Regions from separate parts of the Homo sapiens genome. Here regions 2 and 3 are each linked to region 1. The links are contacts of gene promoters, found by promoter capture Hi-C in human tissues and cell types (Jung and others, 2019). All regions are on one chromosome and are shown on one strand. Each heading gives the region's core, a stretch centred on a gene start or on the middle of the fragment in contact. The rest is flanking DNA. Distances are from core to core; before and after follow the strand shown.

Evidence for each region. The method cuts DNA at HindIII sites, captures the fragments that hold promoters and counts their contacts. A contact is called where the count stands out against the background at its distance.
Region 2: a contact is called between a fragment that was not itself captured here and the fragment with the promoter of KLF17 in region 1, in 1 of the 25 tissues and cell types used here (IMR-90 fibroblasts).
Region 3: a contact is called between a fragment that was not itself captured here and the fragment with the promoter of KLF17 in region 1, in 2 of the 25 tissues and cell types used here (dorsolateral prefrontal cortex and mesenchymal stem cells).

The regions. Positions count from the first base shown.
Region 1 is chr1:44,116,265-44,121,303 of GRCh38, reverse strand. It overlaps KLF17 (KLF transcription factor 17), which reads right to left and starts at 2,483. Exons shown (of 4, transcript NM_173484.4): 1 at 2,316-2,483. The coding sequence starts at 2,396. It also overlaps the pseudogene RN7SL479P. RefSeq lists an enhancer at 1,170-1,937 and a promoter at 2,506-3,494. The HindIII fragment of the contact is 4,517 bases long and covers 1,169-5,039 here.
Region 2 is chr1:44,593,723-44,598,761 of GRCh38, reverse strand. All of the region lies in intron 2 of RNF220 (ring finger protein 220), which reads right to left. Among named protein-coding and RNA genes, the nearest start is that of MIR5584, 51 kb to the right of the region's middle. RefSeq lists a silencer at 3,348-3,519. The HindIII fragment of the contact is 8,491 bases long and covers 1-5,039 here.
Region 3 is chr1:44,398,591-44,403,629 of GRCh38, reverse strand. No RefSeq gene overlaps it. Among named protein-coding and RNA genes, the nearest start is that of RNF220, 4.1 kb to the left of the region's middle. The HindIII fragment of the contact is 5,699 bases long and covers 218-5,039 here.

The DNA.
Region 1 (5,039 bases), core at 1,234-3,733:
GCTACTAAAATTACAAAAAATTAGCTGGGTGGAGTGGCACACGCCTGTAATCCCAGCTACTTGGGAGGCTGAGGCACGAGAATTGCTTGAACCTGGGAAGCGGAGGTTTCAGTGAGCTGAGATGGTGCCACTGCACCCCAGCCTGGACAACAGCACCAAGACCCTGTCTCAAAAGAAAGTGTATATATATATACAATTTTGATACGTTTGATTATGTGGTTTTGGCTATAGAGAAAAATGTTCATTTTTTAAAAAAAACTCTAGAAGAGTTGGGAAGATCTTGTTTTATTTTTTATTTAATTAATTTTAGAGACAGGATCTCACTATGTTGCCCAGGCTGAAGTGCAGTGGCTATGCCCAGGTGTGATCGTTGTGGACCACAGCCTAAAACTCCTGAGCTCAAACGAGCCTTCTGCTTCAGCCTCCTGGGCTGCTGGGACTACAGGTGTGAGCCACCATGCCCAGCCTTATCTGTTTTATTTACCACTATATGCTCAGCAACTAGCATAAGACAGACATATAATAGGAACTAGGTAAATGACTATTGGGTGGGCACCTCTGGGGTGCTCAGCCTCTCCTCCCTAACTCTCAGCAATGGCCCTCTTGTTTTCCCAGTCCTTCATGGCAAATTAAGTTGTCTAAACATGCCTTCACCACTACTTTGCCTTATGAGTCTCCCAAATTTGCTCTGGCCTCTATCTCTCCACAGAACCAGCTTTCATAAAGGTCACCACTGATGACTTCCATCCCACTATGACCAAGCAGCACTTTCCAGACTCCTCGCTTGAACTCTCAGGAGCTTATACGACCACTGGCCACACCCTTCTTAGAATGCTTGGCCTCTCTAACACGCATGGCCACACTTTCCAAGTTTTTCTCCTTCCCTTCTCTCAGACCCCCTCCTTCACAGTTTCTTTTGCAGATTTCCCTTTCCCTGCTCTCTCTGGGCAAGCTTCCCCATGCCAGTGGTTTTGTTTCTGTTTACAGTCCAACTATTCCTAAATCTGGAATCTTCGCTCTGGCGAAGATGGCTCCTGAATTTTCCAGCTACCTATTGTTTGAGTCCTTTCGGATGGCCCACATGCTCTTCTAATGGACTATGGCCAAAATTCACTAGCATCTTTGCCCACCTCCCTCAAACAACAAATTAATCTTGTCCTTCTCATCCTTCACTCTCTCTCAGAAAATGTCACTATTGTCACCCAATTGTGCAAGCAAGAAATCTGTTACTCTAGATGTCTCCCTCACCACCCGGGGACCAATGATTGTGGTCTCTGCCTCCAAAACATCTCCACAATCTATGATATATTTAGCTTCTCCATCTCCACTCTCACTTCTGCAGGTAGGCCGCCATTTGAATTCTCACCTGGATTATCACAAAAGCTTTCTAACTGTTGCCTTGAATCCAGCCCACATCCACCAGGGCACTCCTTTGAAAATGCAAATCTAATTGAGACAGATTATGTTTAAACTCATCAATGGCTTCCCACTGTTCTTGGAATAAACAAGCCCTGAATGATCTCAATGGTGTCCCTGGGGCCACCCTTCCATCACTGTCTAGGCCCTGGTCTTTCAGTTCCTCCTAAGAGGAAGCATGCAGCCTGTGGTCTCAGACCTGGGAACCTTTCACCTGACGGGTTCTTTAGTCCCAGAACAGAGTCTCAGCTGTCTCCTAAGCCTCCCAAATCGGGTCAAACACCTCTGGTATCTGCTCCCACGCGCCCCTGACTTCTTCTTCATGTAACGCTGTACAATTCCAATCATTCAGTTAACGATTTATTCATACAATTTTATATATATCTGTTTCATGGTAAATTCATCATTGTATTTCCAGGGTCTGGGAAAAGCCTACCACTTAGTAGGGCTCCAATTAACATTTTTGGGGTTTTTTTTTTTTTTCCTGTTGTTTCCTGCTCACTTCCTAACTTGGTCTTTGCTGTCCTGCCTACTCAAGTCCCTCACCAGAAAGTTGCCTAGAACCCTCTTACCCGCCACGCGGCCAACACAAGCTCTACTGCTGGGCGAACATTGTTGGAATAAACGACGTATGATTTACACCCTCAATCTCACAACCCTCCCTTTCCAATCCCTCCCCAGTCTCCCATCCCTCCCTTTGCAACCCCTCCCCAATCTCCCATCCCTCCCTTTGCAACCCCTCCCCAATCTCCCATTCCTTCCTTTGCCACCCCTCCCCTCGGATTTCTACCCCTCGGGTTTCTGCTTCCCTCCGCCTCACCTCTCCTCCAAGGCCTCCCCTCCCCGCCGCCCCCTAGCCTGGGCCCGCCCGGCCTGCCAGGGGCTGGCACCTGACTCACCTGGGCAGCCTGGTGCGCCGCCTGCCACCGGCTCAGCTCCCCAGCCTCCTGTTCCATCTCAGCCTGCGGTCGGCCGTACATGAAGACTGGGTGGGGTCTAGACTCTCTACTGAAGAGACAGGGAACCAGCCACCACGGCGTCGCAGGCGGGTATCGGTACATCGCCACGCCACAATCACCTTCTATTTACCTATTTACAGCTGCGCCAAGGGGCGGGGTCAGGCCCCACCCGTCCCGCCCTGCGCCGCCCTCGCAGCCCTGCCCCAGGCTGCCACCCACCCTCACCATGCCCCAACCAAGGCAGCCTCACGGACAGCCAGCCACTTCAGGCCTTGAACGCTTCTTAAAGGAATTTGGTCCGCCCACCCAACCGACCCATTCCACCCCTCAGTCTGAGCAACTGTTTCACCCAAGTGGGGACTGAGGACACCCAGGTCTCCAACTCCAGCCAGGAGGAGGCTGGAGAGAGAGGCGAGGCTGGAGAGAGAGGCAAGGTTGGGTGTAGGGCCTCTACCGATAGGAGAGCCTCCACCAGCACTCTCTCAGGTCGGGATCTTGCCATAAGCTTTGGAAGGGCTGGAGCTTTTCTGCTACAGTCTGTGCACCTCTGTCCCTTGTCTGTACGAACTGAAGACTGGGAGCTTCATGGCACAACCTGTTTATTCCGCAGTGTTTACTGAGTGCCCCGTGTGTGTTGGGCACTGATCTCTGAACTAGGGGTAAAATAGTAAACAGGACAGAACAAAGTCCTTGCTGTCAATTTCCATCTTATACGGGAAGACAAGAAATGAGTAATAAAGTTGTTAACTATTATAATTTTAGGTGGTGGTGAGTGCTATGGAAAACCAAAACAGAAATGTGAGCTGAAAATGAAATGCCTGAAAGGAGCCAGCCATAGGAAGATTGAAGGGCTCTAAGGCAAAAAAGAGCCCAACGGTGCTAGAAGGAAATTGAAGGCAAGGTGACCACGGTGATACCACATGGACAGTGACACGAGGACAGAGGGATAGGGCCTTGAAGACCATAGAAAGGAATTTGGATTTTATTCTAAGTGTGGCGGGAAGCCACTGATGCTTTTAAACAGGAATTTGATGTGATCTGATATATGTTTTTAAAATAAACCATTTGGCTCCTTATGGATTATAAAGGGCCAGAGGGGTGCAGAGACACCAGTTAGAAATCTAAAGGAGATGAGGCTGGGCGCAGTGGTTCACGCCTGCAACGCCAGCACTTTGGGAGGCTGAGGCGGGCAGATCACTTGAGGTCAGGAGTTTGAGACCAGCCTGGCCAACATGGTGAAACCCCGTCTCTACTAAAAATAAAAAATTAGCCAGGCGTGGTGGCGCGTGCCTGTAATCCCAGCTACTCAGGAGGCTGAGGCAGGAGAATCGCTTGAATCCGGGTGGTGGAGGTTCCAGTGTGTCGAGATCGCGCCATTGCACTCCAGCCTGGGCAACAAGAGCAAAATTCCGTCTCAAAAAATAAAATAAAATAAAATATAAAATAAAATAAAATAAAATAAATAAAATAAAATAAAATAAAATAAAATAAATAAAAAAGGAGCTGTCCAAGAAAGAGATGTCAGTGTTTGGTCATGGAGGTGGTGCCCACCTGTAGTCCCAGCTACTCAGGAGGCTGAGGCGGGAGACCACTTGAGCCCAGGAGGTCTGGGCTGCAGTGTGCTGTGCTGATTGGGTGTCCACACTAAGTTCAGCATCAGTATGGTGAGCTCCCAGGAGTGGGGCACCACCAGGTTGCCTAAGGAGGGATGAACTGGCCCAGGTCAGAAATAGAGTAGGTCAAAACTCCTATGCTGATTGGTAATGGGATTACTACACCTGTGAATGGCCAGTGCACTCCAACCTTGGCAACATAGTGAGATCCCATCTCTAAAAAAAAAGAATGAAAAACAGAATTTGTAATGGATCAGAAGGGGGTAGGGAGGGAGGGAAAGAGGAATCAAAAAGGCTCCTAGATTATTGGCTTGAGCAACTGCATGATGATCGTGCCACTTGGTATATGGAAAGATAGGAAGAGGAGCAGATTTGGAGGCAACTGAAACAAGAATTCCATTTTAGACACTGATTTTGAGATGTCTATTAATTATGCTCAGAGAAGGTCAGGGCTGTAAATGTAAACTTGGGTGTTGTCAGCATAGAGATGGTAGTTAGAAGGCCATTAGAGTGGATGCTATCAACACTGGAGATAGTTTGACAACAGGACAGAGGACAGAGCCTGGGGACTCCTACATTTAAGGCCCAGCAGAACAGCAAAGTCATCCAAAGAACCTGAGAGGTTGAAATAAACAGGTAAGTGACTACTGGATTTGGCAAGACGGAGGTCACTGGTGACTCTGACAAAACCAAGTGCAGTAGAAAGGAAGCCTGATTGGACTGGGCTGCCAAGGGAAGAGGAGTTGATGGAGTGGGACATTATCTCTAAACTCTAAACAAGAAGTTTTGCTACGAATGAGAGCAGAAAAATGAGGTGGCAGTTAAGGGAGGGCATGTTATAGGCTGATGGGGATGCACCAAAGGAGAAACTGATATAGAAACAGAGGGCTCAATTATAAGAGCAAAGTCATGGATGAATCAAGAAAGGACAGGATCTGGAGTACCAATAGACAAGTGGGCCTTTAGTGAGAGCAGGGACATTTGCTCTATCATAACAAGTGGGGTAAGAAGGCTCTTATGTATCTTAGGGTCCCCAACTACTAGTATGGAG
Region 2 (5,039 bases), core at 1,599-4,098, 480 kb before region 1:
TAGACCTGGTGGGAAATGGGTGACCAGTGACCATGTGAACATAACCAGACAGCAAAATCCCATGCCTAGAAACACTGACAGACATGCACACCAGGACATATGGCCAGTCACGTGCTCCTAGAGGGTCCCCAGCAGCTCCCCTATCCCAGAGCCCTCGGCAGGCCTCTCTGTGGGCCCAAGCCCCACCCGGAACCCCTGGGCTGCACGCTTTCTCTCTCTCACTCAGCAATTTCCCTACCCAAGAAAGCTCTAAGGGTTTCAATTACCGGCGTGTGGGATTTAGTGCCCTGGGCTTCTCTGACTGGAGGAGATTTATTTGAAGGTTTAGTGTCGTGGAGAATTCACGTCTTCACTCCCAGGAGCCCAGCTTCCGTCCTGAGCCCCTAAATCAGGAACCAAGATGGGCTATTGTCACTTACCGCATTAGCCTCGTTAGCGGACCAGGAGGGGTGATTAATAGCAATACACACACAGCCATCTTGCTCGCTTGCAGCTCCTGCTGCTGCTCATGACCTGGGGAGGGGTGGGGAGGAGCTGAACCTGCTCCAGAATAACTGAGGACTCTGGGCTTAGCCCCCTCCCTGTTTCCCCCTCCCCATCACCAGGCAGGAAAGTCCACATGACCATTCAAGATCTGGGGACAGTTCAAAGATTAGCAAGCCTAGCCAGAGAGAGCACATCTGGAGGCCTGACTCTTGGAGGGGGCGGGCAGGGGGCATGAGGGGGCTGGTTTCAGGATATGTCCCAAAGTGTACACCTGTGTTCGAGAGAGAACGAGAGAGAGAGAGAGAGAGAGGTGGGTGGGGTGGGGTGTGAGGAGACAGTGGGGGGTTGTATGTGAAGGAGGTAGACGGGTGTATGTTTATTTCATTTCCCAAACTGTCTTTGAGACTGGAGATAGCGCACTGAGGAAGACAGACAAGGGCGCCGGGAAGAGGAGGCGTGTACATGAGAGAAAGAGGTCCATGTAAGAGTGAGAAAGACCAAGAAGTGTGCAAGGAGAAATAAAAAAGTGTGGCTGAGAGAGGGGTGAATATGTGCATGTGAGAGGCTTCTATGAGACAGAGAGGTGCGTGTGTGCCGGAGCCATCTGGGAGACATTCGTGAGAAACGGTGTGTGTGCAAGAGTGGGTGTGTGAGGGGAGATGAGAGAAAGGGGTGCATAACAGACATGTTGTGTATGAAAAGAACGTGAGAGGTGTGGATGGGAGGGAGGGGCACAGCGTGAGAGAGGGAGGTGAGGGAGGTTCGTGTGTGTGTGTGTGTGTGTGTGTGTGTGTGTGTGTGTGTGTGCATGAGAGAGAGAGAGAGAAGGGCGTGTATGTATGTTGAGACAGAGAAGGATGTACGTTTTCTGTCTTGTTTTCCTTTGTCTCTTCAAATTCTCCCCTCCTTGCCCCTTTTCCCCCCAAAGTTTTTGGAGCCATGCTAACCTGGGTTTGAATTTCACTTCTGGCTACTTCATTCATTTATTTATCCATTCATTCACCAAATTATTACGGAGCATCTGCTAGCTTTTACCTTCCTGTGCCTCCTTTGTCTTACCTATAAAAAGAAGATAATAATTATACTTGCCTAACAGGGTGATTAGGATACCTTGGTGGTATAACTTACATAAAATGTCTCGAAAGAGCACAGAATTTGGAGCTGGATGCACTCTATAGCACAGCATCTGGCATGTGGGTCAGGAAATGGTAGCTACAGAGCTGCAGCTCCTCTGCCAATCCCTTTCTCTCTTCTTTTTCCATGTCCCTTATCCTCCTCCCTTCCTCTCTCCCACTCGCTTGTTCTCTCTCAATCACAGCTGAGCCATAGTATTAATTATTAGAACCAATTGACTGTTTAGACTCTGATGTTTTAACTAATCACCACTAATGGCAAACACTGGTGGGCAATCACATTCATTTAGTTCTTGGGCAAACTCCTCATAGTTGAGAGCGGACTAGAGGGAAGGGATCCAGCAATAACTGGCATTTGGGAATGATGGGAGGGGAGGCTCACTGCTGCCTAGAAAGAGGCCCTTCTCTCCTCCCTGGGCCAGCCAGGTCCCTTGGGATGGGTCAGCTGAGCCTTGCCTTGGAAGTGGGTCGGCTTCCTTCCCTATCGTTTTTCCTTTATTTATTTTTTTTGTGACTGAGGGAAGTGGTAACACTAATCAAATGCTTACTCTGTGCAAAGCACTGTACTATTTTTTTTTTTTTGGAGACAGAATCTTGCTCTTGTCCCCCAGGTTGGAGTGCAATGGCACGAGGGCTCACTGCCACCTCCGCCTCTCGAGTTCAAGTGATTCTCCTGCCTCAGCCTCCCGAGTAGCTGGGATTACAGGTACCTGCCACCACACCCAGCTAATTATTGTATTTTTAGTAGAGACAGGGTTTCACCATATTGGCCAGGCTGGTCTCTGACTCCTGACCTCAGGTGATCCACCTGCCTCAGCCTCCCAAAGTGCTGGGATTACAGGCATGAGCCACCGCACCCAGCCCCTTCTCTGTCTTTTTACTTCTCTGCCCTTTGGCCTCAGTCTCCCCTTTTGACTTAGAATTCTTTCATGGGAGTCTCCAGAAACCACTACAGTGGAAATATCCCAGAAATATCCTACCTGCTCCCCTTCCTTGAGTTGCTTTTTAGTTGTTGTCCTTCCTAAAAGTCCATTTCCAGAAGAGTCATTTAGACATAGGTTCAAAAATCTTTGCTCATCGGCCAGGCATGGCGGCGCACGCCCGTAATCCCAGCACTTTGGGAGGCTGAGATGGGCGGATCATGAGGTCAGGAGATCGAGACCATCCTGGCTAACACGGCAAAACCCCGTCTCTACTAAAAATACAAAAAAATTAGCCGGGCGTGGTGGCGGGCGCCTGTAGTCCCAGCTACTCGGGAGGCTGAGGTGGGAGGATGGCGTGAACCCGGGAGGTGGAGCTTGCAGTGAGCTGAGATTGCGCCACTGCACTCCAGCCTGGGCGACAGAGCGAGACTCCATCTCAAAAAATAAAAAATAAATAAAAATAAAATAATAAAATAAAAAGTAAAATAAAAATCTCTGTTCCTCACAGGGCATCTGCTTGATGCTGGTTGGAATGGAAAGCTGTACCCTGTCCATTCTGGCTGAGGGTTTCAGTGAAGAGAGCAGACAAACACGTGCTCAGTATTGCTGAGTCTGGAGAGAATGCCAGGGCTGGGGATGTGATCTGAGCATCATGTCCCTGAGAAAACACCTGCTTACTGATCCTGTCTTCTTCACACTGAGGCCCCAGAGCCCCAGCCTGCACACAACCCTGCTGTGCACTGAGCCCTGGCCCATCCTGTACCTGCTCCCCTAGTCTGTCCCGGGGAGCCAGATTCCCAGAACTCAGGAATGCCAGCTTCAGGGTGCAGGACTGGCTGGGCCAGATGGACCACAGGGCCCGGGCGTCCTGGAGGGGGTGGCCTAGGTGTCCGTGGCCAGTAGGTGTCGCTGTGGCTCCAGCACTGGGAGGGGGTGTTAGGCAGGGGCCCCGGAGCCGGCCGAGGTGTTGGGTGCCCTTTGGCCTCCCACCCCTACCTCGGGCCTTCCTTCACTCAGAGCCTTCACCAGGCTTCTCACACTTTCTTTAAGTGTCCATGGAACACTTGGAGGTTAATCTAAAACGCAGATTCTGATTCAGCAGCTCTAGAGTGGATCCTAGATTTTGCATTTCTACCAAGCTCCTAGGTGAGACCAGTGCTGCGGGTCTGTGGATGCTCTTTGAGTGGCAAGGTCCTAACTAAACGGCTCCATAGTGGGGAGGCACTGGCTCTGCTGTCTTCCAAAGCCAATCTTCACCCTCACTCCTATGTCTTTAAATAAAGCCCCGAATCAGAGGCCAAGGGTAGAGCCCCCTCTTTTTTTGGAGATGGGCTTAGCTAGACCAGCATGAGTTGGGCAGTTTCTAGAGAAGCTCTGAACCTAAACCTAACTCCAGTACTTTGAACCAACCCAGCCCTACCTCCTAGCCCAAGTCCTAAACTTCAATCCAATCCAATCCAAATTCCCCAAATTAACCCCAGTTCCCAATGGGCTATTGATTGCTTCAGTCCTGTCCCAAGACCGAATGCCCCCTTAGCCTCTCTGATAACCTTCCTGGTCCTCTGCCATACCTTCTTCTGGATACCAGCCTGAGCCAGGGCGGTGGGGCAATAGGGTCTGGGGACACATGCCTGGATCAGGCTCTTACAGAACTCAGCAAGGGAGCTCAGGCATTGCTCCAGACAAAGGAAAAGAGCAATTTGGCAGTCTAGTTGAGAACAGGCTCTCCCTGCTCTCCCAGACTCTCCCTGCAAGGCCATTTCTGTTGGGGAAAGTTCTGTCTCTGCCTTACCCCGTACGGCTCTGCTCTGCCCGATGGGCTCCACTTCCTGGGACGTGGGGAAGGCTGGGAGGAAGCATGTCCATTAGCCCAGTCCCAAGTGCAGGTGAAGGGGGTAGGATGGAGGGAGTGAAAGGAGGAGGAGGGAATGAAGTAACAAGGAGGGAGGGGGGGAGGCAAAGCGCCCTCCAGGGCTTTTCTTTTCAAATCAAAGTTTCTCTTGGGGGCCTTTCACTTTTCTTTTTCTGTCCACTGCCTGGCCCTTCTGGGTAGTGCAGAAGCGGATTCCTGCAGGGGTGGTAGGTTGTTATTCAAGCTGGACTATAAGAGTTTATCCCTTTTTTTTTTTTCTTTTGAGATGGGGTCTCACTCTGTCACCCAGGCTGGAGTACAGTGGTGCCATCTCAGCTCACTGCAACCTCCGCCTCCCAGGCTCAAGCGATTCTCCTGCCTCAGCCTCCCAAGTAGCTGGGATTACAGGTGCCCACCACCATGCCCGGCTAATTTTTGTATTTTTAGTAGAGTCAGGGTTTCACCATGTTGGCCAGGCTGGTCTTGAACTCCTGACCTCAAATGATCCACCCACGCCTTGGCCTCCCAAAGTGCTGGGATTATAGGCGTGAGCCACCATGCCCGGCCAAGAGTTTATCCCTTTTAAGTCTCATATTTTGTGATTTTTAAGAGTGCAATTATTTTATTTTATATCATTTAAAAATT
Region 3 (5,039 bases), core at 1,818-4,317, 280 kb before region 1:
GCCCAGGCTGGAGTGCAGTGGTGTGATCTTGGCTTACTGCAACCTCCGCCCCGAGTTCAAGCGATTCTCCTACCTCAGCCTCCCAAGTAGCTGGGATTACAGGCATGCCCCTCCATGCCCAAATAATTTTTAGTAGAAATACGGTTTCACCATGTTGGCCAGGCTGGTCTCAAACTCCTGACCCCAAGTGATCCGCTTGTCTCGGTCTCCCAAAGTGCTGGGATTACAGGGGTGAGCCACCACGCCTGGCCTGTTGAGGAACTTCTAATCCATGTTTAATCATTCATTCATACACCAGCATTTATTATGTTAGGCTCTATTCTTTCCACTAAATTATTATTTCCTGCTGGATTGTAAACTTCATGAAGTCAAGAACCATGTTTGTTGCATTCTACATCATACCCTAAGCACCTTACAGCATCAGTCTCTTAGTTGAATGAATAAACGAGGATATAAAAATGAACTCCTGTCCTCAAAGAGCTCACCATCTAGTAGAGGAGACAAAGAAAGAGTTAGAAATCAATTTGATAACCACTGTAATAAGGATGACCTTAGAATTTATTGATCTAACTGAGACAAGTTTGATGATAAAAAAGGGACACTTTTAATAATTACACTGGGATGACAAATGTCAACAAGGGCCATCCTGGGCCAAGCAGATTGAATGGTCACCCTAGCTACATAAGGTATTTCATTCATTCATTTAACAAGCATTTATCGAGAACTCTCTTGCCTGGTGTGTTAAAGGAATTATAAGCCACTGATTTCCCTCAAAATTGAAATATGAAACATTGAGCAGCAAGAGATAGGCAGGAGAAGTGGGCCAAATCACAAAAGGCTTTGTATACTAAGCTAAGGAAAGTGGATGTTATCCTACAGATGATGAGAAACCCCTAGAGGGTTTTAGGGGTGTGACAGGGTAGGATTTCTGTTTTAAAACAAGCACTAGTTCCTGGGTGGACAAGGTGGAGGTTAGACAAGAGGCAGGGAGGCCAATCAAAAAGTCTATCTCAAGTAATTCAGTTGAGATGAAGTAGGGCCTGAACCAAGGTACTGGGGCAGAGTGAGTGGAGAGGAGGGGACACATTACAGTGAGATCTAAAAGGTAGAATCAACAGGATTTAGCCATTTTAGTATGGTGGATGAAGGCAGAAGGAAGACTCTATATAAATCCTAAATAAGATTTTATTATTTATAGCAAAAGATGTTGTCAGTACTTTAATGTTTATCAGTAGTAAAAGGCTCCCTCAGACTAACTTAGAGAGTTCCCGTAGATCCAGTGCACATTCTCACAGATAGATGATACAGATAAGAAGGCCTGTTCAATCATCAAGCCAAATATTTTTAGCTGTTACCACATGCAGTGGTCCTCACTACGATGCAAGTACTCAGAAACTAGAATTAATCACTGTCTATAACAGCAATCTAAACGAATAAATTAAATGCAAATCCCTCATAAAATCAGAGCAAAATTATGTAATGCAAAATTGAATATGTAATACCTCACTAATTCACAGGTCATATGTCCAGCAACCTCAGCTATCCAAAACACAATGAAGCAGGAAATAAGCAAAAAGGGTCCCAGAATAGCCAAAATAAACATTACAAAGTCCATGCACTAAAGTTAACACATTTCCCTCCTAGGAGAATTACACAAGCCTTCATTCAGAGCCGATTTATTCTTTCTTAGGTACAATTCTAATAAGCTTGATTATTTGGCTTTCCCATTCACAGCTGATTAAGATTGTCAAATTAAAAGGGGGCAGCCATTAAAAAGAATGATATAGACTAGGATGTATTGACATAGAAGGATACCTATTATATACTGTCGAGTGAGAAAAGCAAGTCATACAACAGTATGTACAATATGATTTGATATTTGTCCGTATACGTGTACACACACATTGACAGAAAAAGGCCTGTAGGGATACATTAAACCGTTAACAATGGTTATGGCTAGGGAGTGAAAGTGTGGACGTGACAGGGTGGGGGGTTAGACAGGAATGAAGGGAGGACTTTGACTTTTTACTCCATAGACTTCTGTTTGTTTTCAGTGAACATATATTAGTTTTGTAATTTTAATATCCGTTAAAACGTATATAAAAAGAGCAAAGGGTAGTGTTGTTAGAGCAAGAACACTGACAATGAGAAATGGTGACCGAACTATAAGAAGCAAGCACCATAACTCAAAAACTACAACAAAATAGGGTTATTTGGTGTGAAGGCAAAAAGCCCTATCCCATCAGTGCTCCCAGCGGATGTCATGAATTCCAACCAAACATATCCTGATACTTTTGGGGATAGGTCATCAAGGAACACATTACACTTAGTATATTTTACTTATGAGAGTAAGCACACGTGTGAAAATATAGAAAAATAAATTCCTACCAAAATGATTTAAACAGAAGATTTTGATACTTTAAGAAGTAAATTTCAGTTGTCTGGAAAATATACTTTTGTGTAACACATCATTCCCTGAAGATGAGAAGTAAAGGAGATATCACTTTATATAAGAACAGAGGTGATGCAGAGTAAGGAATGGTCCACAAATTCAACAAACATTTATTGAGTGTCTACCAAGTGCCAGTCACTAAGAATAGAAAGATAAATAATAGTGCCTGCCCTAGAGAGGTTTATAGTCCAACAGCAGAGATGGATTGGAAAGCAAATACATATGGCACAATGAAAGCAGTGCTATAATGGATATTCTGAGTATAGGGTGGTAGAAACACAAAAGAAGGAGGTGCTGAGTCTGCCTGGAGCTATTAGGAAAGGAGGCAGAGACAGAAGTGGGTGTTTTAAAAAATAACTATCATATGGGATGACATTTAAGCTTCGTTAAAAATGACTGTTATATGGAATGACACTTAAGTTGGGCTTTGAAGGATAAGTAGTTTATCAAGGGAGAAAAATAGGAAGAGCACTCCAGGATGAGCAAATAGCGTATGCAAAGGCACATGAAATTTCCTGCCACATTCCGATAGTACATCTCAAATTTTTCCTCAAGAAAGAGGTGGTGCAGGTGGTGATGTCTAAGGGCAAGCCTAAAATGGCTTGCCACTAGCTTGAAATTTATGTATCCTGTTTTATCTTGAAAAATGAATGAAAATTTTGCCTTCAATTCCACAAATATATTAAGCTTTAATATAAAACCATGTTTTAAATTACTTATCATTTGATAGAACTGATGCTCCAGAAAGATGCACCACATTTATTTGGTGCTTTCTCACATCCAAAGCACAACACTAAATAAACCAGGGGCATTCATTCCTAATTTGAAAAACATTCAGAAATTGGGCTGGGAGCTGAAAAAAAAGATGTAGAAGATATAAGGGGAGACTGGAAAAATAGATTAATGGACTGTGAAAGATCTTGTTTGTCACATTAAGGAACTAACTGGACACTCCCAGTGTCTAGCCAACTCCTATTTATACTTCAAGACTTTGTTTGGGATGGACTCTTCCAGGAAGCCACCCTGCCCACCAGCCTCTCTTCTCCTCAAATCTGATTATCATAGCAGTCTATGCATGCATCTATTCATTTATCACATTGTACTGGAATTATCGATTGTTTTCAGATTCCTCTAATAGACTCTGATCTGCTTAAAGCAGAATTCTGTCTTAGTTGTTTTGCGTGGTACTTAGCACAACAGATACTGGTGTCTGTCGGACTCAACTGATTTAGATAAAAGGACAAGATTCAGAAAGTACTACCTGGTCTAGATTCTAAAGCTTCTTGAAGGTAGGGCCTGCTTGCGTACCACTGCATCCCAAACACTTCACACTCACTGGAAACATCCAGTAGGTGATTGATAAAAAGTGCAGAATGAATGAGTGAAAATTCTCAAAACAGGAATGACATGATCAGATCAGGGTTTAGAAAAATAAAATTGGAGGCAATTTTAAATGTAGACTGGAGACGAGTAAGACTGGAGACAAAGAAATTAGGGAGAAAAAATGCAAAAGATACATAGGACAAATTGGTAAAAGATTGCCTTTTCTTAAAAATGTTTTTCTAATTGGCTAATTTGATTAGATGTTTATATTTATGTTACAAGACTGGTCTTTTTATTCTCTTAGGATTTCCTGATGGAGGATATTCAGTTGCCTTGTTCCCTGACCCCAGCTGCCTTCAGGCTGGTGTCTTCTTGTACATCTGGAGGTCACTGAGGGCAGTGACTATGTCTTATTCATCTTAGTATCTCCAATGCCTAGGACATGCCTGCTCAATAAATGTTTGCTGAATGAATGAACACATAAATTGATCTATTAGTATACTGTACTCAAGCTCCGACCAAGACACAGAGGACCTAATGATCCCCAGTGTGTGGGTTTCTGGATACAGGAAACAGAACAAATAAAGCAAGACTGGATACAAATGCACACCTATTCCACAGGTAACACAGGGTAAATTTCTCTCTCTGACCCTTCCATCCTCATTCTGAAGAATAACTCTCATTGAGTGAAAATCAATAAAAGTCATTTTAAGGGAAGTAGGTTTAGAAAAAGGCCCTGAAGGAGGAGCAAGGAGGAGGGGAACTTCAAGTTTGAGCAATCTGGACTTTTAAAATATATATATAAGGACTTGTAAGCTTCAAAAAACCTTCACAAAATAAAAAGTCTGCTTTTCTACACTCACTTTCAAAAGGAATCTCCCTCATCTATGCCCAACACATAAACCAGGAGACTTTTTGAGATTTCCAGTTTTATCACCCAAAAAGAAAAAATAAATTCACAGTAGAAATAATAAATCCTCCATTTTTCATATTGACTCCAACAAGAAACTTTCTGAAGTAGTTGCAGGTAGCTCCCAAAGACAGTCAGCCAATATCAATGCCAAGATTGACCGTCTGGCAATCTAGCAACAAATATTTACTGACTACATACTATGTATGAATCAAGGCAGTAGGAAGAAGCTGTAAAAGATGCCCACCCCATCCCCCCAAAAAGGCACAAAATGCACTTCCTATCCCCTAAGAAGCTTGTAGAATTGTAGCATTAACTCATAATCAAAAGAAAGGTTAAATAAACCCAAATTCA